2 separate regions of the Homo sapiens genome follow, and region 1 is linked to region 2. Evidence: promoter capture Hi-C in 16 types of primary human blood cells and fetal thymus (Javierre and others, 2016). All regions are on one chromosome and are shown on one strand. The core of a region is centred on a gene start or on the middle of the fragment in contact, and the rest is flanking DNA. Distances in the headings are between cores, read along the strand shown.

What was found. The method cuts DNA at HindIII sites, captures the fragments that hold promoters and counts their contacts. A CHiCAGO score of 5 or more calls a contact.
Region 1: a contact is called between a fragment that was not itself captured here and the fragment with the promoter of SLC25A5 in region 2, in 1 of 17 cell types (naive B cells). The highest score is 5.4, in naive B cells.

The regions. Positions count from the first base shown.
Region 1 is chrX:119,745,803-119,751,747 of GRCh38, reverse strand. No RefSeq gene overlaps it. Among named protein-coding and RNA genes, the nearest start is that of SOWAHD, 9.8 kb to the left of the region's middle. The HindIII fragment of the contact is 5,147 bases long and covers 1,532-5,945 here.
Region 2 is chrX:119,463,720-119,469,693 of GRCh38, reverse strand. SLC25A5 (solute carrier family 25 member 5) reads right to left here and starts at 1,250. Exons shown (of 4, transcript NM_001152.5): 1 at 1,068-1,250; 2 at 1-33. The coding sequence starts at 1,178. SLC25A5-AS1 (SLC25A5 antisense RNA 1) reads left to right here and starts at 574. Exons shown (of 1, transcript NR_028443.1): 1 at 574-3,661. RefSeq lists silencers at 461-700, 1,191-1,570. The HindIII fragment of the contact is 10,795 bases long and covers 1-5,974 here.

The DNA.
Region 1 (5,945 bases), core at 2,856-5,355, 280 kb before region 2:
GGGAAGGCGGAGCTTGCAGTGGGCCGAGATCGCGCCACTGCACGCCAGCCTGGGCGACAGAGCAAGACTCCGTCTCAAAAAAAATAAATAAATAAAAAATAAGGAACGAAATAACTGACACATGCTACAACATGGAGGAATGTGAAAAATACTATGCTAAGTGAAAGAACCAGACACAAAAGACTCTTCTGATTCCTACAGGAGATGTCCAGACGAGGCAAATCCATACAAACAGAAAGTAGGTCAGTGGTTGTCAAGGCAGGCATGAGGGAAGAGGGAGAATAGAGAATGATTGCTAATGGGTATGGGTTTCTTTGGGGGTGTTGAAAATATTCTGGAATTAGATAGTGGTGATGAGAGGTGACAGCGTGCTGGCAGTCCTCAGAGCCCTCGCTTGCTCTCGGCGCCTCCTCTGCTTGGGTTCCCACTTTGGCGGCACTTGAGGAGTCCTTCCGCCCGCCGCTGCACTGAGGGAGCCCCTTTCTGGGCTGGCCAAGACCAGAACCAGGTCCCTCAGCTTGCAGGGAGGTGTGGAGGGAGAGGCGCGAGCAGGAACCGGGGCTGCGCGCAGCGCTTGCGGGCCAGCTGGAGTTCTGGGTGGGCGTGGGCTTGGCGGGCCCCGCACTCGGAGCAGCCGGCCGGCCCTGCCGGCCCCGGGCAATGAGGGACTTAGCACCCAGGCCAGTGGCCAGTGGCTGTGGAGGGTGTACTGGGTCCCCCAGCAGTGCCGGCCCACCGGCGCTGTGCTGGATTTCTCGCTGGGCCTTAGCTGCCTTCCCGCGGGGCAGGGCTCGGGACCTGCAGCCCGCCATGCCTGAGCCTCCCACCCACTCCATGGGCTCCTGTGCGGCCCCAGCCTCCCCGACGAGCACCACCCCCTGCTCCACGGCGCCCAGTCCCATCGACCGCCCAAGGGCTGAGAAGTGCAAGCACACGGCACGGGACTGGCAGGCAGCTCCACCTGCGGCCCCAGTGCGGGATCCACTAGGTGAAGCCAGCTGGGCTCCTGAGTCTGGTGGGGAAGTGGAGAGTCTTTATGTCTAGCTGAGGGATTGTAAATACACTAATCAGCACCCTGTGTTTAGCTCAAGGTTTGTGAGTGCACCAATCGACACTCTGTATCTAGCTGCTCTGGTGGGGCCTTGGAGAACCTTTATGTCTAGCTCAGGGATTGTAAATACACCAATCGGCACTCTGTATCTAGCTCAAGGTTTGTAAACACACCAATCAGCACCCTGTGTTTAGCTCAAGGTTTTGAATGCACCAATCGACACTCTGTATCTAGCTGCTCTGGTGGGGCCTTGGAGAACCTGTGTGTCAAAACTCTGTATCTAACTAATCTGATGGGGACGTGGAGAACCTTTGTATCTAGCTCAGGGATTGTAAACGCACCAATCAGCGCCCTGACCAAACAGGCCACTGGGCTCTACCAATCAGCAGGATGTGGGTGGGGCCAGATAAGAGAATAAAAGCAGGCTGCCCGAAGCAGCATTGACAACCCGCTCCCGTCCCTTACCACACTGTGGAAGCTTTGTTCTTTCACTCTTTGCAATAAATCTTGCTAATGCTTACTCTTTAGGTCCACGCTGCTTTTATGAGCTGTAACACTTAACCGCCAAAATCTGCAGCTTCACGCCTGAGCCCAGTGAGACTACGAGCCCACTGGGAGGAATGAACAACTCCCCACGCGCTGCCGTAAGAGCTGTAACACTCACCGGGAAGGTCTGCAGCTTCACTCTTGAGCAAGTGAGACCACGAACCCACCAGAAGAAAAAAACTCCAAACACATCTGAACATCAGAAGGGACAGACTCCAGACGCGCCACCTTAAGAGCTGTAACACTCACCGCGAGGGTCCGCGGCTTCCTTCTTGAAGTCAGTGAGACCAAAAACCCACCAATTCCAGACACGGTGATGGTTGCACAGCCTTGTGAATATACTAAAAAGCACTGAAATATACACTTTAAAGTGGTGAGTTGCTGGGCGCAGTGGCTCATGGCTGTAATCCAAGCACGGTGGGAGGCCGAGGTGGGCAGATCACCTGAGCTCAGGAGTTCAAGACCAGCCTGGCCAACTTGATGAAACCCCATCTCTACTAAAAATACAAAATTAGCCGGGCTTGGTGGTGCATGCCTGTAATCCCAGCTGCGCAGGAGGCTGAGGCAGGAAAATCGCTTGAACCTGGGAAGTGGAAGTTGCAGTGAGCCGAGATCACACCATTACACCCCAGCCTGCCCAACGAAAGCTAAACTTCGTTTAAAAAAAAAAGTGAATTGTATGGTATGTGAATTATAGCTCAGTAAAGCTGTTGCCATAAAGTGCATTATGTCCCTTAATCTTTACAACAACTCTAAGAGACTAATGAGAATCTGAGGCCCAATGAAGTTAATTGACCACGTTCACACAGCTAGTAATTGGCAGGAAACCCATCCAGCTTCAACTGATTCCAAGGCTCATACTTTTAACCATCATGTTACACTGGGTCTAATGCATCCCTCATTTACATAGAGGATGTTGTAAAAGCCAACACTCATTGAGGCCTTAATATGTGCCAAACACTATGCTAATCACATCACATTCATGATGCTTAACATTATGGTAGATATTAAAGCAATAATCTCCAATTTTTTTTTTTTTGAGATGGGAATCTGGCTGTGTCACCCAGGCTGGAGTGCAGTGGCACCATCATAGCTCACTGCAGCTTCTAACTCCTGGGCTCAAACCATCCTCCCACCTCAGCCTCCTGAGTAGCTGGGAGTACAGGCATGTGCCACCATGCCCAGCTAATTGTTTGTTTTTTGAGACAGAATTTCGCTCTTGTTGCCCAGGCTGGAGTGCCATGATGCCATCTTGGCTCACTGCAACCTCCACCTTCCGGGTTCAAGCGATTCTCCTGCCTCAGCCTCCCGAGTAGCTGGGATTACAGGTGCCCACCACCACGCCCAGCTAATTTTTTTGATTTTTAGTAGAGGCAGGGTTTCGCCATGTTGTCTCAAACTCCTGACCTCAGGAGATTCGCCTGCCTTGGCCTCCCAAAGTGCTGGGATTACAGGCGTGAGCCACTGCACCCAGTCCCAGCTAATTTTTTAAAAATTGTTTTAGAGATGGGATCTCACCATATTGCCAAGGCTGGTGTCCCAACGTTTTAAATTGCATGCCCCTATAATAAAAATATTTTGAGCAGATATTCTCAACATTCGTGAATATTTTGCAATTTCAAAATGATGTGTGTGTATTACTCTATGAAATATGTATATTATAAAGCATACACAAAAAGGAAATTTTAAAAGGATGAGACAAAGATAAAATATAGTTTAAAATAATTTACAGTTTTATAATGCTTGTAGTACAAAACTATTTGGATATTCATTAAAATTTTATTATTAATTTTTTCACAAGAGAATGTGATTGCATATGCTTCGTTTTTAAAACATCTTTTTTTTTTTCTTTTTTTGAGACAGGGTCTCACTCTGTTCCCCAGGCTGGAGTGCAGTGTTAAGAATACAGCTCACTGCAACCTCAACCTCCTGGGCTCAAGTGATCCTCACCCCCAGGCCCCCAAGTATCTGGGACTACAGGCGTGTGTCACCATGCCAGGCTAATTTTTGTATTTTTTGTAGAGATGAGTTTCACCATGTTGCCCAGGCTGGTCTCGAACGCCTGGGCTCAAGCAATCTACTCACCTTGGCCTCCCAAAGTACTGGAATTACAGGGGTGAGCCACTTTACTTAGCCATTTTTTAAAAATCTAACATCATTGTTATTAGAAAGTGCTGGCTGGGTGCGGTGGCTCACACCTGTAATCCCAGCACTTTGGGAGGCCAAGGCAGGTGAATCACCTGATGTCAGAAGTTCGAGACCAGCCTGGCCAACATGTTGAAAAACCGTCTCTACTAAAAATAAAAAATTAGCTGGGTGTGGTGGCACACGCTTGTTGTCCCAGCTACTCGGGAGGCTGAGGCAGGAGAATCACTTGAACTCAGGAGGTGGAGGTGTAGTGAGCCGAGACCTCGCCACTGCACTCTAGCCTGGGCACCAGAGCAAGACTCCGTCTCAAAAAAAAAAAAAAAAAAGTGCTAGGCTACTATGACCGTTCTTAGGTTAACACTATAATGCAGCTCTTTGAAGGTGCGGATCTTACTTTATTGCAGCACTCAGTTTTAGTGGATGTCACACATAAGCAAGATGTCTCACAAAGATACACAGCTCCAAATGGAAGAAAAATTTAATTGGCTGGGCTTAGTACATCATAATTCTTGTTTTTCAATTCCACCCACCAATTATGCAAAGGTTTCTGATGAAATTCAGTTGGTAAACGGTCATTTTTGCTGATGGCAATCATTTGTTCTTGCAAAACGGTAAGTACTTGTTGCACCTTTGTGTTTTTAACAAATGTGCCGAAAACCCACAAAAAACTCTACATTTGAAATATGTTTAAAAAGCAGGTTAGGAATTTTTATTCTGAAGTTTTAAAATGTGCAGATATGATAGGTTTTCTAGGTATGCTACTTACATCATTTTTGGCCACAAAATTACATAACAATGAAAACACAAACATCCATTTTCCAAATGTTCTCTGCCTGTTCTGCATTTCCTTCCAAAGCAGTTACTTTCTCACTCATTGTTAAAATATCAACTTTATCTTGAAGAACTGGATGGGCTGTGTTTATTATGATTTTTTTTTAAAAGTCTCCTGGCTGGGCGCGGTGGCTCACACCTGTAATCCCAGCACTTTGGGATGCCGAGACTGGCGGATCACCTGAGACCAGGAGTTTGAGACTAGGCTGGCCAACATGGCAAAACTCTGTCTCTACTAAAAATACAAAAAAATTAGCTGGGCATGGTGGCAGGTGCCTGTAATCCCAGCTACTCAGGAGGCTGAGGCAGGAGAATCGCTTGAACCTGGGAGGCGGAAGTTTCAATGAGCCGAGATTGCACCATTGCACTCCAGCCTGGACAACAAGAGCAAAACCTCACGGCAAAAAAAAAAAAAAAAAGTCTTCTGACTACTCTAAGACACCCCTGAAAATGTCAGTAAATTTGAAATGCGTATCTTTATGTGGAAAAAAAAGTGCATCTTTTAGTTTGAAAACTCTTTTAAGGACTTACATAATAGAATTCTTTAAAGATTTTACTGGTATATTGGCTGGGCACGGTGGCTCACACCTGTAATCCCAGCACTTTGGGAGGCCAAGGAGGGAGGATCACCTGAGGTCAGGAGTTTGAGACCAGCCTGGCCAACATGGTGAAACCCCCATCTCTACTAAAAATACAAAAAAAAAAAAAAAAAAAAAGCCGGGCCTGGTGACACGCACCTGTGGTCCCAGCTACTTGGGAGACTGAGGCAGGAGAATTGCATGAGCCTGGGAGGTGGAGGTTGCAGTGAGCTGAGATCACACCACTGAACTCTAGCCTGGGCGAAAGAGTGAGACTGTCTAAAAAAAAAAAAAAATTACTGTATATCAAGTCTTATTTTGCCAGGCACGGTGGCTCATGCCTGTAACCGCAGCACTTTGGGAGGCCGATGAGGGTAGATCATTTGAGGTCGGGAGTTTGAGACCAGCCTGGCCAACAAGGAGTAACCCTGTCTCAACTAAAAATACAAAAATTAGCTGGGCTTGGTGGCACGTGCCTGTAATTTCAGCTATTTGGTAGGCTGAGGCAGGAGAATCACTTGAACCCAGAGGCAGAGGTTGCAGTGACCCGACATTGTGCTACTGTACTCCAGCCTTGGCAACAGAGTGAGACCCTGTTTCCAAAAAAAAAAAAGTCTTATTTTTATACCGTTAACCAGATTAATGAATCCTATAGCACTTTGTACATTTCAGGCTTCAATATCTTTGCTGTGATAGCTCGCCAACTTTCTCAGTAAAGTTACCTTGAAATCCACCCCCACTTTTGGAAAGTTTCCTGTCAGAGTAGCACTTCATCAGTGTAAAAATCTTTA
Region 2 (5,974 bases), core at 1-2,500:
ATCTGCAGTGATCTGCTTGCTGGCATGCTGCACCTAACAGACAGGAAGGAAGCCAACAGGGACAGTTATAACCATGGGGAAGGGAAAGAGAAGAGCTTATGCCATCTCGATCAATGCCCTTTAAGGTAGGCTCCCCTCTCTCAAATCTAGTCTTCGTATATCATACTGGCTGGACCCTCCCAACCCTCTGAGGCTGTCACAGGGGAAGAGGTGATCTGCACCAGTAGCATTAAGCCTCCACCCCTCTGAGTGGAGAGGGGGCATCCTCCAGCGGACCCGTGACCTTCAGACCTAGGAGAAAGGTCATTACCTCAAACCCAGGTTCAGAGGCATTAGGGCGAGTCCCACATAGGGCGCGGTCACCTTGGGGACCGCAGCCTACGCCTCAAGTCTCCTGAGCTGCTTCCGTCTCGCTCCGCCCCCACTCCGCTCCCAGAGGTGACCCGAGCGCCGCCGCCGCCAGCCCTACACGCTAGCCCAGGAGCGCCCTCTAGAGCCGGCACTGGAGAGCGCGCGGCGCAGGGAGGCAGGCGGAGACGCGGCGGCAGCGGCCGCGGCTGCGCGGGGGCGGACGTAAAAGGCACACGCGCTTCCCGGCGCCGGCTTCCGGCCCGGCGAGGTTTGAGCGCGTCCGCGGGCTGGGAGGCCGCTGGACCCGGGCGCATGGCCTCCCCCGGGCAGTTATCTCCTTGCCGCGACCTTGAGGTCTTCGGTAAGAACTGGCGTTCCTCTTTCTAACGCCGGCTTTCGGCCTTCGCCCTTGACGCCCAGGCCCGGGGAGGCCGTCACTCAGAAACTGCTCCATCCGAGTCCGCCGCCTCGGAGATGCCGAGAGCCTGGTCCTGCCCTCTGCCCCCGGCCCCTTCCTAGACTCACTACTTCAGGTCACTAAAGGCGCCTCCCACCAGTTTGACTTCTGTTCTGCCTCTGCGCCCCGCTCTGGCCTCTCCTAAGCCGCTTCCCTGGCCATGTCTTTAGAGTTCGCTCCCCGCCACCCCTCGGGCGCCCGCCTTCTGTGCGACCCTTCCCCCCACTTCCTGGTTGGGCTCCTGGATCCCAGGACGTACCTGCAGCAGCAGCTTGACCCGCTCGATGGGCGCTACCGCCGTCTTGGAGATGGCTGCGGCCACTCCACCTGCCAGGAAGTCCTTGGCGAAGGACACAGCGGCATCTGTCATGTTGAAAGAGGAGGCAGACTGCTGCAGGACGGGACTGGGCCGGGAACCGGCTTTGACTCCGGCGCTGCGGGGCGGAGCGAAGCAAATGGCCGATTTATATAGGGGGAGCCGGAGCTGGAGCGGCAGGCGTCGGAGGCGGGGCCGGGGCGGGGTCTGGGCCCCGGCGCGCTGGGCGGCAGAGCCGCTGAGTGGCCCAGCTCGCAGGAGGAGGAGTCGTGGAGGGCGGGCCGGGACTGCTCTCCGCGCCGCCCGTGCTCGCCCTCGGCACCTGACCCGGCGAGAGGAAGGGGCGGGTCCAGAGAACACCCGGGACTTGAACGCTGGACCCTGAGAGAGGCCTCGGAGAGGGGAGGAAGGGTGAGGTCACGATGTGCCTGGACAAAAACCCTTGGAGCAGGACCAGGACTAGGGTGAGACGCATTTGCTACAGGGATGCCAAAAGAACCCTTCAGTCATCGAGATAAACAGTAGTCAATGCGATACTTTAAAAAAGTCGTATGGGCAAACTACATCCTACTGGCCGGCCCCCTTGTTTTGTAAATAAAGTTTAATTGGAGTGTCAAGGCTGGGTTTAGGGTGAGGCAAGCGAGACAAGGTCATGCAAGTGCAGGTTGGGATCCTGTCTGTATTTCAAATGTTGATCATTTGTTCATCATGGATTTTTGCATTGCTTCTGATTTTTTTAAAATAGTACATGAAAAATCATTTGTCTTAATTACTGAGTTGTTTTTCACCAAGGTGAATGCCTCACTCTTCCCACTCTAGACCGTGTGCTGTCCTGGAGCCAGTGAAACCAGACGAAATTAAGGGAACAGCAGACGAAGGAACTGCCACCGTGCCCCAGACCCTGGTTTGCAAATACAGTTCGACAAAGATCTTGCCAGGAATTGGCCTGGGAGAGTCCAAAGGACTGGGCTGGGGGTGGGGAAATGATTTTAGCCAGAAGACAAATATAGAGGTTGTACCCAGAAGGTTAAGAGGCTTAGGAAGGTTAAGAACTACGTTAACATTTGGCTCCCAGGACCCCAGGTAAAGTGCCCTTGGATTGAATAGATTTCTGAACTCCAGAAACATTTAGAGGAATCAATAGAATTAGATTGGCAGCCATTGTGCCAATGGACAAGTGCTTACTGAGCCCCTTAATCCCTTCACTGGGTAAGCATTTGCCACACATGTCCTCAAAAACCTACTTGTTAGCTTAAGTGGACTCCCTCAAGTTCAGAACAGGAGCAAATAGTGTAATCACAAGTTCCGTGTCTGAATAATCATAACAATGTTTATAAAAATAAGGACGACTGTTGAAAACTGCAACTGCAGCTGAACCTTATGTGCCCAGACTTCAGAATTCCCATAGGCAAAATGCCAGCAGGCCTTTGCACACTGAACACATAGTGTTCATATCCTTCACTTTCCTTTCCTGCCCTCTCCTATCTTCTCCAGATCTGCCTGTGAAAGGACCCAATTCTAGGACCCCCCAGGATGGTTAGGCCCTTCCTCTGAAAGTACACTTTGCAATTTGTTAGTCTCCTCAAGAACCCCAGCGATCGAAACTGATGCACACAAATTGCATGTGTTCAAAGGAGCAATTTTGAATCTAGCTTTGTTGATCCTGGGAGAAATCTTTGACCTGTGTTAGTGAAAGGCTATGGTGTTTCTCAGCTGATTATAATAGCGAGGTAGCTGAATGCAAAAAAACAGTTTCAGAGAATGGTAGAGTATATCCTCCAAAGGTGATACTCGCTTCTCTATTCTGGTGAGAGAAACAAGAGCTAAAGCAAAATTCTACAGAGGGCTTTATTTGGAGAGAGGTGGATTTTATTTATAATGCATTTAAAATTCAAAATCTTTCTAGTTTGAACTCTTGACATTCTGATTAATGCATTTTTATTCAACTGTTAATTATTCCTCGATACACCTCGCCATCACTTGTGTATCCCTTTTCTACATGTGACCTTTCCCTGGCCACATCTGCTACTCTCTTTGAGCATGATGCCTCTACTGTATTCTATTCCAGAGCTCATTGTTTTGTCAGTTTTTTTTCTCTCCACAAAAAAAGATGATCAAATAATTACATAGAATTTTTCCCTTCTCAGTCTTTGGGTAACTAAGTGTGGTTTTATTGACGATGAAATACAAGATGGGTCATTTAAAAGCAACTTCTTGTCATCACTTGGTATTTTGCTAAATCCACGGTGAGCTGGAGCTCCCGTAGTCACCTATCACCGCGTGTATTTTAAGGAGTCAGATATTCTCGAAACTGTTAAGATCATGAAAGACAAAGAGACTAAGGAACTGTCACAGATTAAAGGAGACTAAAGATACTTGACAACTGAATGTAATATATGACACTCAACCGGCTCCTGTACCAGAAAAAGGACATTGGTTATATTGGTGAGGTTTGAATATCTGTAGATTACCAATACTATTCTTGGTTATGGTGGTTATGTAAGATTTAGAGAAGTTGAATAAAGGATATAAGGACATTTTTGTACTATTTTTGCAACATTTAAAAAAGTCTGAAAGTTTAAAAACTTTTTAAAAAAGAAGGAAAAAGAAACAAGGAGCAAGCATCCAGGAAAATAGAAAATAGAGTCTCATTCTGTCACCCAGGCTGGAGTGCAGCGGCACGATCATAGCTCACTGCAGCCTCAAACTCCTAGGCTCAAGTGATCCTCCCACCTTAGCCTTCCAAATTGCTGGGATTACAGGTATGAGCCACTGCACCCAGCCGAGAAGAATATTAATGATGATGATGATGATGATGATGATGATGTTGATAATGATATATGGCTGGTCAGTTAATCAAAACTAATTCCTCCATTGAGACATAGTGCTGTGTTAGTAATTATTGTGTTTCTGGAAGCTATGTAAAATATAAGTCTAATTAAGAGGAACTAAAGCTAAGGCAATGCCTAGTAATTCTCAAGGAAAAACAAGGAAGAGAGTCAGAAATGACACTTTTAAGGCCTCAGATATCTATGTACCAACACCCAGAATATGGGTAATAAAGGGAATGTAATTTTTTTTTTTTTGAGACAGAGTTTTGCTCTTGTCGCCCAGGCTGGAGTGCAATGGCGCGATCTCCGCTCACTGCAACCTCCACCTCCTAGGTTCAAGCGGTTCTTCAGCCTCAGCCTCCTGAGTAGCTGGGATTACAGGCACGCCACCACCACGCCTGGCTAATTTTTGTATTTTTAGTAGAGACAGGTTATTACCATGTTGGCCAGGCTGCTCTCAAACTCCTGACCTCAGGTGATCTGCCTGCTTTGGCCTCCCAAAGTGCTGGGATTACAGGCATGAGCCGCAGCGACTGGCCGGGAATGTAAAATTTTAATACACTCAGGAAAATGCAATTTTATAGGTATTGTTTAGACTTGGGAGGGTGGAACTTCTGGCTGGCATCTGGAAAACTTGATTCAGAGATACCATACAGAAGAAGAGAGCAGTAATATGTCAAGAAGGTATAACTAGTAATTCATTGGCTGGAGGGTGAAAAGCATTCAGTGAGAATGAAACGGAGAAATGAAAGTGATTATAGTTGTAGAAGTATACAAGAGACTTCTCAGATTAAAAGTATGAATGGGGCCGGGCGCGGTGGCTCACGCCTATAATCCCAGCACTTTGGGAGGCCGAGGCAGGTGGATCACCTGCGGTCAGGAGTTTGAGATCAGCCTGGCCAACATGGTAAAACCCCGTCTCTACTAAAAATACAAAAATCAGCCAGGTGCGGTGACTCAGGCCTGTAATCCTAGCTACTCAGGAGGCTGAGGCAGGAGAATCGCTTGAACCCGGGAGGCAGAGGTTGCAGTGAACCCACATCGTGCCGCTGCACTCCAGCCTGGGTGACAGAGCGAGACTCCATCTCAAAATAAAAATAAAAATAAAAAATAAATAAAATAAATAAAAGTATGAATGGCATTTCATAAAACTGTCACATAGACGAACAGGAAAGGGTGATCAGAGACATAGAACATCTGAATATCTGCTGGAAGTTATTCTGATAGCAACATATCTGATACATTCTTTTTTCTTATTTTTAAGACCATCTTAAATTTAAGAAAACATCTGATAGATTCTTGGCTCTCTTGCTGATACAGTGTAATTACAGTTCTCAAAAGAATAAAGAAGCAATGAGGTAAATTGCTAAGCTGGGCTTAATCCTGATAATAAATAAGGAAGATTTGGTTAGCAAAGTGAAAGTGACAAGAATCTTGGGGAAAGTGATCCTGTCATCTGGATATCTGTTAAGCAAAAAAACTAAAAAAAAAAAAAAAAAATTGCTGGGCATGGTCACATAGGTTAATTAACGTGTGTGTGTGTGTGTGTGTGTGTGTGTGTGTGTGTGTGTGTGTGCGGTGTATGTATGTGTATGTGTAAGGTAGACTTCAAAAGGATCAGAGAAAAGATAAGTATGATCTGGCCTAACACCAAAAGAGAAAGATAGCTTAAAAGGGAGAGGGATCCAGTTGAAAATTCAGAACTGTAGAATTTGGAAAAGTTCCAATGATAAATTAAAAAGGGAGAGATTTCTAATAAACTACAGTGTCCTTATAGATTATTCTCTGATGAGCTCAGATCTTAAAAGTGCATGTATAGATGACAGAAGGAGGACTATGCTTCCAAGGACAAAGCCCAAAGAATATCACAAACCTCTAGGAATTGAGTCATAAGGGCTAAAGTCCAGAATAAACCCAGGCTTATAAAATGGGAAGCATTGCAATAAAGGGTTTTAATGCCCTATTTAGTGCAAGACATTTAAGGATGAGGAGATAGAGCTTAATGGTAGCATGTGTGAA